Regions from separate parts of the Homo sapiens genome. Here regions 2, 3 and 4 are each linked to region 1. The links are contacts of gene promoters, found by promoter capture Hi-C in human tissues and cell types (Jung and others, 2019). All regions are on one chromosome and are shown on one strand. Each heading gives the region's core, a stretch centred on a gene start or on the middle of the fragment in contact. The rest is flanking DNA. Distances are from core to core; before and after follow the strand shown.

Region 1 (3,602 bases), core at 578-3,077:
CGATCTTAGCTCACTGCAAGCTCTGCCTCCCGGGTTCACACCATTCTCCTGCCTCAGCTTCCCGAGTAGCTGGGACTACAGGCGTGCGCCACCACACCCAGCTAATTCTGTATTTTTAGTAGAGACGGGGTTTCTCCATGTTGGTCAGGCTGGTCTTGAACTCCTGACCTCAGGTGTTCCACCTGCCTCGGCCTCCCAAAGTGCTGGGATTACAGGCATGAGCCACAGCGCCCGGCCTATAACTTCATTTTAATAAAAAAGAAATTCAGGCCAGGAGTGATGGCTCACGCCTGTAATCCTAGCACTTTGGGAGGCCGAGGTGAGCAGATCACCTGAGGTCAGGAGTTCAAAACCAGCCTGGCCAACATGGTGAAACCCCGTCTCTACTAAAAATACAAAAATTTAGCTGGGCTTGGTGGCGGGTGTCTGTAATCCCAGCTACTCAAGAGGCTGAGGCAGGAGAATTGCTTGAACCTGGGAGATGGAGGTTGCAATGAGCTGAGATTGCGCCAATGCACTCCAGCCTGGGCAAGAAGAGCAAAACTCCGTCTAAAAAAAAAAGGGAAAGAAAAGTTCAGTCTTTCAGAGGGAATACACTTACCTGAATAGAGGTCAAAATCTCAGAAGAGGCCTCCCTCCTCTCTCTGACCTCTGAAATGCCCTGGATCTGCAAGTGGGAGATAACAGGCCCTGACAAAGGGTTGCCCAAACAGCAGTGTGTCCCTAGGAAGACAGGTTAAGCATCAATTACTATGAGGCTAGCACGAGTTAAGCATTCCACATGCACGATCTCATTTAATCCTTACAAGTCTATGTAGGTGGGGCTACTAGTATGTTCACTCAACAAATTGGGAAACAGAGTTTGGAACTTCGCCCAAAGTCATTGGTTTCTCTTTCTACCAGGATAGATTTAAGTGCTTACTAAGTGTCAGGTACTGTTCCAGGCATCGTACATGTACTAACTCATTATCCTCATTAGAACCCTCTGATACAGGTGCCATAATTATGCCGCTTTACAAACAAGAAAACTAAAAGCAGAAAGGGAGGAGTAAACCCAGGAGAGGAATTCAGGAGAAGCTCTGGTCTCAACCTTTAGCCAACATCACAATCACCCGAAGGGCTTGTAACACACTGATTGCTGGGCTCAGCCCTAGAGTTTCTGAATCCTAAGGCTGAGCAACACCTAATTTCCACTTATGCAAGTTCCCAGTGAATGCTGTTGCTGCTCGTCTGGAAGCCAGACGTTGAGAACCCCTTCTAGAGTGAGCTCTCCCGCAGCAAATTCTACTGGCCCCCAAAGTATGTGTTTTGTGTGTCTTAAAAATTTGTTGAGAACCATTAGCAAAAAAACAAACAAAAAAACTTAATTCCTAGAATTTCAGAGAAATCCCATGGAGCTTTTTGCCAGTCACGTCAAAAGAGGCCACAAACGTGCCACTTAACCAGAGCTTCGGAAAGGCGGCGGCTGGGCCGGCCACGTGCACCGAGACTCGGGGCCAGGTGCAGCCGCCCCAGGGCCGAGGCCTCGGAACTGGCCCCCGGTCCCGGCCCCAAGCGGTCCAGCGATTCCCCCAAGCCGTCCGCCCCTCCAGATTTATTTACGTTTTCCTGACTTCCCCCTGCCCGCTGTGGGACAAACAGCCTCCCCACTTGCATCTGCGAGGGGAGTAGCGCGCACTTCCGCCAAGTTCCGCCCCCACCCAGCCCGAGGCCCGGCTGCCGCCATCTTGCGGGGGGCGCACCTCACAGGTCGGGAGCTGGGCGGGAAGGGGCGTGGTCCCGGGACCCGCCCCGCCGGGGCTTTTGGGAGCGCGGGCAGCGAGCGCACTCGGCGGACGCAAGGGCGGCGGGGAGCACACGGAGCACTGCAGGCGCCGGGTGAGGCGTGCGGCGGCCGGGGTCGGGACGGGGGTTCTGGGCGGGGGGTTCCTGGTGGAGGGCCCGGGCGGGCGGCGGGGTTCGGCGGCAGGTGCGGCGGGCAGCCTAGGGGGCGCGGCGCGGGGTTCTCGCCCGGCACCCCCGGGGCAGGTGGAGCTGAGCCGGCCCGCGGCCCCGCGACCTTCCCCTCGGCGCCGGGTCCCCTCAGGTCTCTCCCGAAGGAAACGCGGAGCCTGGGTGCCTGGGCGCCGTCCCTCGGCGGCTCCCGAGCGGTTGCAGTTTTTGAAAGAGTTTCTCAAAGGCTTGACGGTTGTGACTGCAGCCGCGGGGCAACGGTTGCTACACAAAGTGAAACTTGCCGAGTGCTCGGCTTCTCACGGGCTTCCTGGCAGCCCCGGGAAGTTCCTCGGCGGACCCCGAGCCCGCGCCCCCTCTCCACGGATCCCTCCCCAGCGAGTGCCCCCCCGCCCGCCCTGTGCCCCCTCTCCCCTGACCCCTCCCTGTCGGGTGCCCCGCGGGCTCGCGCTGGCTGTCCCGGGACTCCTTCCTCCTAGGTGTTCCTCCTGCCCCTCGCCCTCTCTCTCCCAGGCGCGCGCTCCCTCTCCCCGGGCCTTTCCCCGCCGGGTATCCCTGGGCCCGCGCCCCCTCTTCTCCGCCTCTCTCCGCTGGGTGCACCTCGAGTGTCCCCCAGACCCCTCCCCGCCCGGCCGGCGCTCTCTCCCCTGACCCTCCTGGCCGAGTGTTCCCCGGGGCCCGCGCCCCCTCCCCCCGATCCTCCCCACTGAGTGTTCCCCCTGCCCTCTCTCTCCCGGGCCTGCGCCCCCCACCAGCCCCTTCATGCTGGGGGTCCCCTGGGTGCGCACCCCCTCTCCTCGGACCCACCCCCAACTGGGGGGCACCTCCAGTGCCCGCCGGCTGCCCCTTGGGCGCGCGCCCCCGCTCTCGGGCGCCTCCTCGCCGGGGGCCCGGCCCGGCCCCGCCCCGCCCGTGCCCCCTCCCCATGCCCGCAGTGCTGGGCGGGGCGCTGACTCACCCGGGCCCGGGCTGGCCGGTTCTTAAGCGGCAGCGCGCTGCGGGCGCCGAGTGTCGGGCGCGGCAGGAGGACGAGGCAGGGCGGGCGGGCGCTCTAAGGGTTCTGCTCTGACTCCAGGTTGGGACAGCGTCTTCGCTGCTGCTGGATAGTCGTGTTTTCGGGGATCGAGGATACTCACCAGAAACCGAAAATGCCGAAACCAGTAAGTTGCCCAGTTTCTGGGCCGGGCGGACGGGAGAGGCTTCATTGGAGAGGGGAGGCACCTGCTCGAGGTGTTGGGGCAGTTCCTGGGGAACAGGGTTCTTCTCACACGCAGAAGACGATAGGAATAGGAGGAGGTTTTCGCCGCTCTTTGTTACTTGTTGACCCTTTTGTGGAGCGTTAGGAAAACACCATTTTGATGCTTTTCTCTGCAGTCTTTTTCTTTGTGAGCCCCCTCCCCAGTAGTTACGGTCTTTTCTAAAAACTAGAGGCCTTTTTACACTGCTTCCGTCTGTTTTTAAAGGGTATAGTAATACAACTTAGAAGTTTCTTAAAAAGTCCAAATCACAGGGAGACTCAGATGGCTTCCGACCACACACACCAGTTCTCAGAGCTCCTAAGGGTCCGAAACCACAGGCGCCCCAGATCCAACTGGGGAGATATTAAAGGGCGTTTGGGAGAGGAGACTGGCTTTCGGAAGTTGCCTTTC
Region 2 (3,805 bases), core at 831-3,330, 320 kb before region 1:
AAAAAAAAAAAACCGTTTATTCAGGGGTGTGACGATTTGGTAATATGTCAACACAACTAGGATAAACTACACTTCCCAAAATTCCTTTTGATATGGTTTGGCTGTGTCCCCACCCAAAATCTCATCCTGAATTACAATAATCCCCATGTGTCAGGGGCGGGATCAGATGGAGATAATTGAATCAAGGGGGCAGTTTCCCCCATACTATTCTCATGATAGTGAGTTCTCATGAGTTCTGATGGTTTTATAAGGGGCTTCCCCCTTCACTTGGCTCTCTTTCTCTCCCCTACTGCCACGTGAAGAAGGAAGCGTTTGCTTCCCCTTCACCATGATTGTAAGTTTCCTGAGGCCTCCCCAGCCATGCAAAACTATGAGTCAATTAAGCCTCTTTTCTTTATAAATTACCCAGTCTCAGGTATGTCTTTATTAGCAGTGTGAGAACGGACAGCTACTACATCCTTGCTGGAAGTTTCTAGTTAGGGTGGCCACAAAAGTGATCATTGTGCAAGATTTGGAGGGAGAAAGGAAATAACAGCCATGTGTGGCTTGCACATTGTCACTTAAATGCTGGCTCCCTCACTGGCATGAAGGGGTGGCCACCAGGCCTGCAGCTGTGCCTCCTTCCTGGGATTTCCTCTCCAGCCTCTCTGATTCTTGGGCCAGATGTGCTTGTATCTAGCTCCTAGCTCCTACCAAAGGTCCAGCTTTTGCAGAACACCCAAGCCATTGAGGTCAGAACAATGACAGTGGACACAGCTTCCAGTGTCCTGCTCTGCTCTGAGTTTGTTCTTGGATTCCAAGACTTACATCCATCTTTCTTTCCTCTCTGCCTGCCCTGCACTCTTCAACCTTCAGCATCAGACATGAAAGCAACAGCCCTAAGGCAGGGACCTCTCAACCAGCTCCCAGAATTGTGTAGAGTCAAGTGTCTATAACAAAGCCCTTAATATTTGTGTGTGTGTTTGTGAGTATGTGTTTTCATGTGTGGAATATATATCAATAGCTAGATGATAGATAGAAGATAGATAATAGATAAGTGATGGATGGATCGATGGATCAATAGATAGATAGATAATTGATAGATAGAGATATGTCTATTTCCCTCAGTGGTTCTGCTTCTCTGACTGAACCCGGACTGATACAAGGGGCTTGTCAACATTATCATTGCCAATATCATTGCCAACATTATCAATCATAAAAGAATTGGCTTTCTAAGGTCATGCTCTGTGTAAGCCAAGTCTTTAAAATGATTCATTTATTTTCTCTTTCCTTCAAAATTACTGAGGCAAATATCATCCTCCCCGTGTTATAAATAGGAAAAGAAACAGCAGTCCCTTAAGGAACAATGGTCTGATGCACCCGTCTTTCAAGAGTTACTGTGGAGGAAAGACAAAAAGAGGATCTAGAGGGCAAACTGGTCCCCTACCCTTGTTTATCTTTATCAGAGGCCAAGGCGCCAACCTCAGTGTCTGGGCCAGATTAGGGACTCAGTAAATATGATACATTTGGTTCATAAAAATTAAATCCCTTGAACGTTTTGCTTTGAAGAGCTGACTTCTCTTTGCTTTGTTAAACAAAACTCTTCTGATTACTTCTAACCAGGCTTGAATCAGGGATTACTTGGCCTCTGGGCAAGCTTAAAAGTGAAGCAAGTCAAAGCAAAGCATAAAGTGAGAGCATGATTTTTGCATGGGGTTTTTTTATGTATTGGTTTAACCAACTTCTTTACTTTCCTGAAGGTCTAAGATATTTGGGACCTTACACAAGAATACACATGCATTGCAGAAACTCCCTGAACCCATAAAAGTTTAATATGTCAAATACCGTACAGCTGTATTCTGCACCATGGATGTGGTAGGTGCCCCTGTACTTATAGTGCATATGGATCCCAGTGCTCCAATGCATGGATGCAGGAAATAGAACTTTCTTTATTTTCTGTACCTCAGCTGGATTTCTATTTTAATACCCCATCCTACCAGGATGAGGGAGAAGAATCTCACTCAACTCAAGGTCTCGCCTCTCCTTTCCCTGGAGCTGTGTCTAAGTTCTAGGACACCTAGAGGGTGCAGAGGCTTTGGGGAAGGTACCGCCAGACCCTCATTTCCTCTGTCCACTCAAGCCCCTCATGTTCCTGACTACATCATCCTTTGTACGCAGCAGCTGTCCTCATGACTTCTGTGCCACACGTGAGGACATAGGGACCTTTTGGCAGCTCCAGCAGCCCATGGGGTACCTGGCTCAGAGAGGTTCAGAGAGGCCGGACCCAGCACACAGCCTGTCTCCACCCTATTCTGCTACTTGAATGCTGTATGGGAGAGGTCAAGTGGCAAGGAGGACCTGAAGATGACACATGGGCTAATAGGTCCCAACTAATTTCCTGCCCCACACATTATTAAACTTTGTCATCTGTATGTTTTGCAGGTTTGGGCAAGAGTTGGATTCCCTCCAGGACCTCAGCTGGGCCTTATGTTCCTACATGGCCTTGCTGCTAACAGAGTTCCCACCCAGACACTCTCACTGTTGCTAATAATATTGTGTGGACGACCTCTACTGAGACATGTCTTAGGGTTCATACCATACAAAGGGCCCATATCTGAAGTTAGAATTCCCGGAAGTAGACCCTAAGATAACGATTTGTGATATGGTTTGGCTGTGTCCCTACCCAAATCTCACCTTGAATTGTAGTTCCTATAATCCCCATGTGTCATGGGAGGAACGCAGTGGGAGGTCACTGAATCACTGAATCACAGGGGCAGTTACCCCCAAGCTGCTGCTCTTGTGATAGTGCGTAAGTTCTCACGAGCTCTGACGGTTTCATAAGGGACTTTTCCCCTTTTGTTCGGCACTTCTCCTTCCTGCCACCATGTGAGGAAGGACATGTTTGCTTCCCCTTCCACCATGGTTGTAAGTTTCCTGAGGCCTCCCCAGCCCTGCAGAACTGTGAGTCAATTAAACCTCTTTCCTTCATAAATTACCCAGTCTTGGGCAGTTCTTCATAGCAGCGTGAGATGGACTAATATAATCTGTGTGTAGGTGATTTATTGATTATGACACCAGCACTCCCAGGGCAGATGAGGAAGGGAGTGACAAAGGCAGGATGGGAAGGAGGAGGAGGCCTAGTGAAGGCCCCACAGAGAGCATCTCCAGCTGACCCTGCAGAGGAGCCCTATGGTGTAAAGCTCAGGGTAGCCCCTCAGGAGGCAGGGGCTGGGCTCCAAAGAGCTGAGCTCCCTGCTGCTCCCCCAGCCCGAGGGAAGTCCTTTAGAAAGGGTAAGGGAGTGCAAGAAACTGATGAGGGGGCTCAAGGGAAACTGAGAAGAGCCTGGGCATTGACCAGGAAGTCCAGCACCCTCCAATTGACTGCACAGGGGATGCAAGGGGCTCTGAGGGCAGGTGTGGGAGGGAATGGGTGCCAATGACTTAGTGGCTGTGTACACAGGGCCAACAGAGTGAACAGAAGAAAGTGCTTTTTAAAAAACTTTAAACAAGCATGTGCACTCCTTGGGTTCACTGAGATTCTTTACCATTGAATGTCAGCAATAGTGTGACTTTTTGAACAATGGCTTTAAGCTTAAAATTTATCAAATAGACAGACCACAAGAATGTCACACAATGCAGATAGTGATTGTCAATAACACCGAACATCAGTTGGCACGTGGCAGGATGCACCATGGAAAACTAGCTTTGTCTGAAATTCACTTTACAGGTATTTGAGGGCCCACAATGTATTTTATATATATTCATATAGATGTGTTATCTATTTTCAGAAAAAATGATCTCATAAAAATTCAGGAATTCTTTTACA
Region 3 (3,402 bases), core at 781-3,280, 510 kb after region 1:
GCAGGGGTGCCAGGGACAACTGACCCACCTGGGGAGGCGCAGCCTACTGTGAACTATGTCCATCTTAGCATCTTTTCTGCCAGAGAATAAGAGACAGAACTCACAGCATGGGAAGTCTCACTAGGCAGCAAGTCTATGAAACTGAAATGAAGGAAGTTTCAAGTCCACAAGGGGCTCAAAAACACCACTGGAAGTGACCAAAAAGTGAAACAAAACCACAGCTCACCTCGCTATTGTGGCCCCGGAGGTTGAAATTTATCCTCTGTGGAGTACTCCTGTCCCTGCGACAGTGACTAGAGGTGAAAGTCACCCCAACCACTCCTCGCCCGTTGCCCGTGGCCAGCCAGCCTTCCTCATAGTAGCGTCTCCTGCACACAGGCTTCTCCTTCTCACTCTTGGGGACACGCCCCTTCCAGGACAGGCACAGGATGTTGGAATCGCTGCAAAGCACAGGCCCATGTTCCACTGCTGCATACATACTTTCTTCAATGAACTGTTTTACTTAAAAAGTAATGTTAATGCTGTGAAATTTAAACCAATTTCTTTCATTGGTATATGTGTTTTTGTGGTTGGCTTGCGTTGCTTTTTTCCCCCTTTAATTAAGACTGACCTGAATCTAATTAGAAGGTCAGTATTTTATAAAGATCCACCGAATGCATAGTGAAAAAATTCCTCTATAAAAGATGATGGCAGTCTTCTAAGAAAAGGTAATGCTTAAAAAAACATGGGGTCCATTTGTATTTTCAAGTTCTCAGAGGAAGAACGTGCTGATCCTTTGGAGAAAGAGCATCGTTAATTAAGTGGTGATCAAGAAACGGTTTTCTTCTTTTTACTCCACTTGGTTATTCTCATTCAGCCTGAGATTCCAGTTTAGTGTAATATGATTCCAGAGACAAAGGGTTGCAAATACATAGATTTCAAGTAACTTAAGGCTTTAAGAATCCCTCTAGCTCGAATTTTTCTCTTCAAAAGTTCGGATGCAGAGACAGAATACACAGGATCATCTTCCTTCTGAAGCCACCCTCTAGCATGTTTCCTGAACTAGACAAATTTCTGCTGCTAAAGCTGAAAAAGATTGCATAAAGGGAAAAAAAGGCACACAAACCGTGCAAAACAGACCAGAGTTTGTGCAGACAAGAGTCCAAATTTTAGGAAGAAAAACAGACTCTCTCCTTGTTGTTTCAGAACCAGAAACTTTCCACCTCAAAGCTTGGCCCTGTGTCCCCGGGGAACGCAGGGCTCCATCGGACTGCTCCTCCACCAGCCGGCGCACCCCTCAGTGCCATAGAGGCTAGAAAGAAGGCCCCTTCACTCAAGAGGCAGAATGTTCCAGCGCTCTTACAGTGGTCCCAGTGTTTGCCCTGGGTGAGTCTTAAATCCTCTTGCTGACAAAACAGAGCCACGTGGCAAGATTTTGTTTCTTTTGCTCGTCTCCCTTCTCGCTCCCCCAGTTAGCACTCCCCTTTTCTGCTCCTAAAGATCTTTTTCCATCTTGATGAAAAAAGCTAATCTTAGAATTAAGTCCATCAGGTAATCTTCTCATACGCAAGTCTTCTTGGACTTGACAGGGAAGTTAATCCCTTAAAACAAAAGCAGAAGCCAGAGTCAGATTCCCCCAGCTGTCTCCCTAGAGAGTGATAGTGTTTTGCTGATGGGTGCTTTCCTGTTCACATTCAGAGACTGTCTCCAAACACCACACCACTAGTCCAACAAAAAGAAAGCTTTGCTTGGATTTTCCTTGATATTTATTTAATAATTATTGGTTTCAATTGCTATTTTACAATATTATCCTATAGATGCAGGAAAAAAGGGGGGGAATAATAAATTAAAATTTCTCAAATACAGTTAATTAAGATAGGCAAAGGAATCAGTTCATTATTCAAACTTGTCCCATCATACTTGAACTTGCTTTCCTCTAGCCATAACCACAGTAGGAGTTACTTTTCAGTCTAGAATTTTAATCCGTCCAAATCACCAAACCCACTGAAAAATAAAGTGCAACAAACACTGTGTGAGCCGCTGCAATGTTTGAAATCACACTTCTTTCTCAGTCACCTTCTCACTTAGTTCCTTCTTTAAACTGGAGAATATTTTTGTGGTTTAATCTGCGCAAATTTTTTTTTCTTCTTTTTGCAGACTTTCTTTACCCGTGCAGACCATATGGAAAACTGGCCATTAGTGATGTATTTTTCTCCCCGGGCTCCTGAGCCCACTGGTGTCAAGTTGCTCCATCTGATTCTTAAATTAATTTTCATCAGTTGTAAAACTCTCAAGTGTGCACAAGAATGAGCCTGTCTTCCCGTGTGAATGTGTAAGTACAGAAAGAAGGTTTTAAATGCACATAGACACACACTCTTCAACTGCCATACGAAGCGTCTGCTTCCCCAGTCATTTCAGGAACCATCAGATTATTCACGGCTGGGAGGCCCTGGAGTCTTACAAATCTGTTTAAAAAAAAAAAAAGATATAAAATTTAAAAACTTTAAAACACTGGAAAATAAAGGTTTTAAGAATAATTGCTGAAACTGAAATGAGAGACCCATCTTTACACTTACATCAAATGGAGCTACTGACTGCACTGAATGGTAAAATCCAATAGTGAAAGGATACACCTCACCAGACTCAAGACAACACACAACAAATGAGAGTTCTGCCTGCCACTGATCGTTGTATTCAATTTGTCAGCAGCTGGGCACATCTGAATGAAATCATAACTGCCATTCTTCCACACTGAACTGTACTTTCTAAGAGACTGAACTCCGAATGTGAGACTCTACCCCTCCAGAGACCATGGTCGCTGTTTAAGCAGGCATCCTCAAAAAGGAGACTGAAATGACTCAGGCAAGTTATCTGGATTGATTTTTTCACGATTAATAAAAGATATTCCCTCAAGACACAAAGCAGTAAGGGCCTTTAAAACTCATTCGTCCCTGATGGCTGGCAGGTCTCGGAGCAAAGCGCAGCTGTTTTCTAAGCTTTTATGTGGTCTACCAGCAATAAAGTTCTAGAGAATCTGTCTCTAGCAAATCCATTCCATCTTCTTCCTACTGCCTGAAGTCCAGGCTGCATCACATCCTCTACAAACACGAGAACACTCTGTCCCTAACTTACTCATCCTCCCTGCCCTCCCGCCCCGCCAGTCCTTCCAGAAAGCAGAGTGGACTTTCTCAAATTCAGCAGACTCTCTCAGTCTCCTGGGGCAGCTGAAGCGGCCCAGCCCCATCCCACAGGAACTGGACACTGAAAGGGAAGGGAAGGGCCCAGGTGTTCGCATTTCTAATAAGCTCCCAAGAGATGCTAATGCTGCTGGGCAGGGAACCAGGCTTTGAGAACTACTGGCCTGTAGCATCAAGTCCCAGCAAAAGACTCTACTTTCATCATAATACTAGGACATAATTTGCC
Region 4 (3,669 bases), core at 103-2,602, 260 kb before region 1:
CCATTTCATCCTTCATGCCACCACAGAGGAGTAGTGGCTTCAAGACTGATCTCATCTAGCACCCGCCTCACCTCACTCCCATCTCTTCCAATCCTCAATGGCAAACATCATCTCAATAAAACATCAGTAACATCACCTGCCTTCTTATGAAGCCCCTCCAGCTAGTGTGGCACTAAGAAGGTTTACTCTCTCCTACTTCCTCCCTCTCCTCCCATTGTGCAGGGAAATACTTGGAGTTTCCCAAACTCCCCACGCCTCCCATTCCTGGGTCACCTTGCTGAGTCTTCTCCAAGTCTCTTGCCCCTTTTTCTCCTCTTTGGGATAGCCCACTTCAGCGTCAATGTCACCATGTCATGGAAGTCCACTCCAGCTGCCGCAGGTAGAGTGAGTTGTTCCTTCCTCAAGGTTCCCACTGCCTTTGGCATTGCCTCCCTCTAATTGAGCCAGCCCAGGTGACTTCCAGATGGGGCAAACCTTATCCACCTTGGGCCCTCACCAGCAGGGTCTCAACAGAAGTTCGCTGGATAAATGAAGAAATGCTGAACCAATAGTAGTAGTTCATTTCTATCCAGTAGCTATTTTAGCCAGAAATTTCCAAAATGGCCATACAGGGCAGCAGCATGATAGAGAGCAGGCTGGTGATTTAGCTGAACTTGAATTTGGTCCCAGCTGTCTATGGGGGTCTTAAGCTTCTAGATGCCAGTTTCGTCCTCTGTAAAATGTGGATAGTAATAGTACCACAGCATAGTGGTGACAGGGAGATTAGAAAAGACAGTTATTAGGCTGAGTGTGGTGGTTCACACCTGTAATCCCAGCACTTTGGGAGGTCAAGGCAGGAGGATTGCTTGAGCCCAGGAGTTTAAAACCAGCCTGGTCAACACAGCAAAACCCTGTATCTACAAAAGAAAAAAAAATAGCGAGGCCTGGTAGCTCAGTCCTCTAGTCCCAGCTACTCAGGAGGCTGAGGCAGGAGGATTGCTTGAGCCCAGGAGTTCGATGCTGCAGTGAGCCATGATTGCACTACTGCACTCCAGCCTGGGAGACAGAGTGAGAACTCGTCTCAAAAAACAAAACAAAACAAAATAGTTATTGAAAAATCTTTATCACAGTACCAGGCACAATGAAAGTGCCCCAGAATGCCGACTTTTTTAAAAAGCGCCTGGATCCACTGATCTCTAGTTTTATTATTCTGTTGTTCCTGAATCTCTCACAAATCAAAATCCAATTTCATAAGTGCTTTCTCTCTTCAATGATAAGGAGCCAGATGTCTGCTTCCTCACTAGAAGGGTACTGGGAGAGAGACTTCACTTGATCTGGTCCAGAGGGGCTGGCAGATGGCAACCACAGGGCGGTGGGCCTGGAATCTGAAGACCTGGAAAACCCATGGTTTACCACGGAAACCATGACAGGACCTCACGTTAACACCCAGCCTTCCCTTTCCTCCCCGAGCCTCCCAAGCCCCCTCGCAGTGAAAGGACAGAGGCCACCGTGCTGGCAGCTGGAAGCCCACTCTGTGGTTTGACCTTTATTGTCCTCCCACATACTGCAGAGTGGGCTGCGCTGCTATTACTCACGGGCCGCCTCGCTCGCAGCACTGAGGGCTGGGGAAATCACAGGCACTGGCAGCTTCTGACTGGTTCCAGAAGAGCCTCGATTAACATCAACTGCAGACCAAAGCGTTTCCCATCCACACCTTCCCTTCTCTTCTGAACACAGGGATCTCTCCTGCAATTGCTTTTGAGAAGAAAAGGACTTCATGGCAGCCTCTCTTTTCTCCCCAACAACCACACCTTTTAAGAAACTATTGTCGCGATCCTACTTTGAAGACATTCAAAAAGTTTTCTAATAGCTGCAGACGTGGCAAAGGTTTCTTTTTAGCAAAGCCTTTAATACTGCATGTCTGCTGCAGAGTGACACTTGACCAGTTTACAGCATCGGAATCTTATTGATTTACCTTCATCACCTCTTCTGGAAATAAGCTTCTCACACAGCTCTTTGCCTCCCAGGCGCTGCCCCAGAAGGGAGCACTTGTAGAAGTCAGTAGTAGTGGCCAGACATGGTGACTCACGCCTGTAATCCCAACACTTTGGGAGGCCGAGGTAGGCAGATCACTTGAGGTCGGGAATTCGAGACCAGCTAGCCAACATGGTGAAACCATCTCTCTACTAAAAATACAAAAAAATTAGCCAGGTGTGGTGGTGCACACCTGTAGTCCCAGTTACTCGGGAGGCTGAGGTGGAAAGATCACTTGAACGCAGGAGGTGGAGGTTGCAGTGAGCCAAGATCACACCACTGTCCTCCAGCCTGGGTGACAGAGCAAGACTCTGTCTCAAAAATAAGTAAATAAAAAGAAGTCAGTGGTAGTTCCATGGGCGAGACAGGGCCTCATATGACATGAGCAGGATGCACTGACTGCTTAACTTGGTTCACGAAGCAAGAAACAGGTATTACAAATAAATCTTTCAGCATGGGGTGGGGCATGGAGGTGGCAGGAAAGGATGAGATTTTTTTATCAACAAGTTTGTTGAATTGAACTCTGTGTTGGATGCTATGCTACTCCACTGAGGGGCTTTCAATCTCATTGGAAGAAGATGACTCATGCACAGAACACACGTAGCCATTTATCCCATTAACTTCTTTGGAACAGCAGTTCAAGTCCCAGTAGATGATTTCATTAAGAAAGTCTTGGGCATTAAGACTGGGAAAAATGATATACCTCATTCCCATTTTAAAGATTGACACAGCACAGCAGCCTTCCGGAGGGTCTGGGAAATCCTGCCAAACAGAAATTGCTTAATTTTGTACAGCAGTCAGGATAGGATAGGTCATGCTCTAACAAACAACTTAAAAACCCCCGTGGCTTAGGATCACAAAAGTTTATTTCTTGCTTGCGCTAACACATCGTGGATCAGCTGCAACTCTGCTCCACGTTACCTTCATCCCAGGACCCCGGCTGATGGAACAGGCTCTGTTGAAGAGAGAAGAGACGTAGTAAAACATTCCCGGGCTCTTAAAGCTTGAATTGCAGGCGATATGTGCCTTATGCTAGGCACAAACAGAGCAGAGAGAGTATTGCACTTGGATGCAAGCAGCCCCACAGGACAGAGCTGGGGTGACAGAGCAGGACTCCCATCACCCAGGAAGGGCCTGGCAACAAGCCCAGACCCAGAACAGCAGTTCCTTTAGGAAGTGGCAAGTAGGCGCTGTGGGTCAGAAACAAAACAAAACTAAACTAAACTAAACAAAAAGAAAATCTACACCCCTTCAAAGTAGACTGGAGAAGGCAGGTGAAATGGATCCAGTTCGAATCCAGAGGCATAGAAAGTTGACTAAGTCAGCGAGGAAGCTACTGTTTCATAGAGGGTTTCCAAAAGGTTCTCTGCCTGGGTTTAGGGAGTCCTTAGGCATGGCAGGTAAGAACATTTGGGTGTGTGTCTGCAGGGGCTGGAAGACTCCAATTTCAACAAGGAGTATGGGGTGTGCTTTTATGCCCATAGCAAGCAATAAACTCTCCCATCTTCTGAGACAGACCATATAAACCGAGAGTCTGTGACAGCTCTGCACCCCAGGGGGACATTTTATAGTTTACATATTTATCACAAAGGAAGATAGGAAATCATCATGATACACCAACCCCAATTAAGTCTGACAGAGCAGGGTCTCTGTTTG

What was found. Contacts are between HindIII fragments. The study calls those that stand out against the background at their distance.
Region 2: a fragment that was not itself captured here is called in contact with the fragment with the promoter of EZR in region 1 in 1 of the 25 tissues and cell types used here (hippocampus).
Region 3: the fragment with the promoter of TULP4 here is called in contact with the fragment with the promoter of EZR in region 1 in 1 of the 25 tissues and cell types used here (adrenal gland).
Region 4: a contact is called between a fragment that was not itself captured here and the fragment with the promoter of EZR in region 1, in 1 of the 25 tissues and cell types used here (dorsolateral prefrontal cortex).

What each region holds. Positions count from the first base shown.
Region 1 is chr6:158,817,593-158,821,194 of GRCh38, reverse strand. It overlaps EZR (ezrin), which reads left to right and starts at 1,827. Exons shown (of 14, transcript NM_001111077.2): 1 at 1,827-1,878; 2 at 3,029-3,113. The coding sequence starts at 3,102. It overlaps EZR-AS1 (EZR antisense RNA 1), which reads right to left and starts at 3,216. Exons shown (of 3, transcript NR_102425.1): 1 at 3,090-3,216; 2 at 602-723. RefSeq lists silencers at 1,544-1,593, 1,654-2,643, 2,784-2,983 and an enhancer at 3,194-3,243. The HindIII fragment of the contact is 16,325 bases long and covers 1-3,602 here.
Region 2 is chr6:159,140,537-159,144,341 of GRCh38, reverse strand. No RefSeq gene overlaps it. Among named protein-coding and RNA genes, the nearest start is that of FNDC1, 27 kb to the left of the region's middle. The HindIII fragment of the contact is 6,118 bases long and covers 1-3,805 here.
Region 3 is chr6:158,311,093-158,314,494 of GRCh38, reverse strand. It overlaps TULP4 (TUB like protein 4), which reads right to left and starts at 2,030. Exons shown (of 14, transcript NM_020245.5): 1 at 227-2,030. The coding sequence starts at 478. RefSeq lists an enhancer at 327-406. The HindIII fragment of the contact is 2,154 bases long and covers 1,466-3,402 here.
Region 4 is chr6:159,075,179-159,078,847 of GRCh38, reverse strand. The region is part of intron 3 of LOC112267968; the gene reads left to right. Among named protein-coding and RNA genes, the nearest start is that of TAGAP, 32 kb to the right of the region's middle. The HindIII fragment of the contact is 4,721 bases long and covers 1-3,669 here.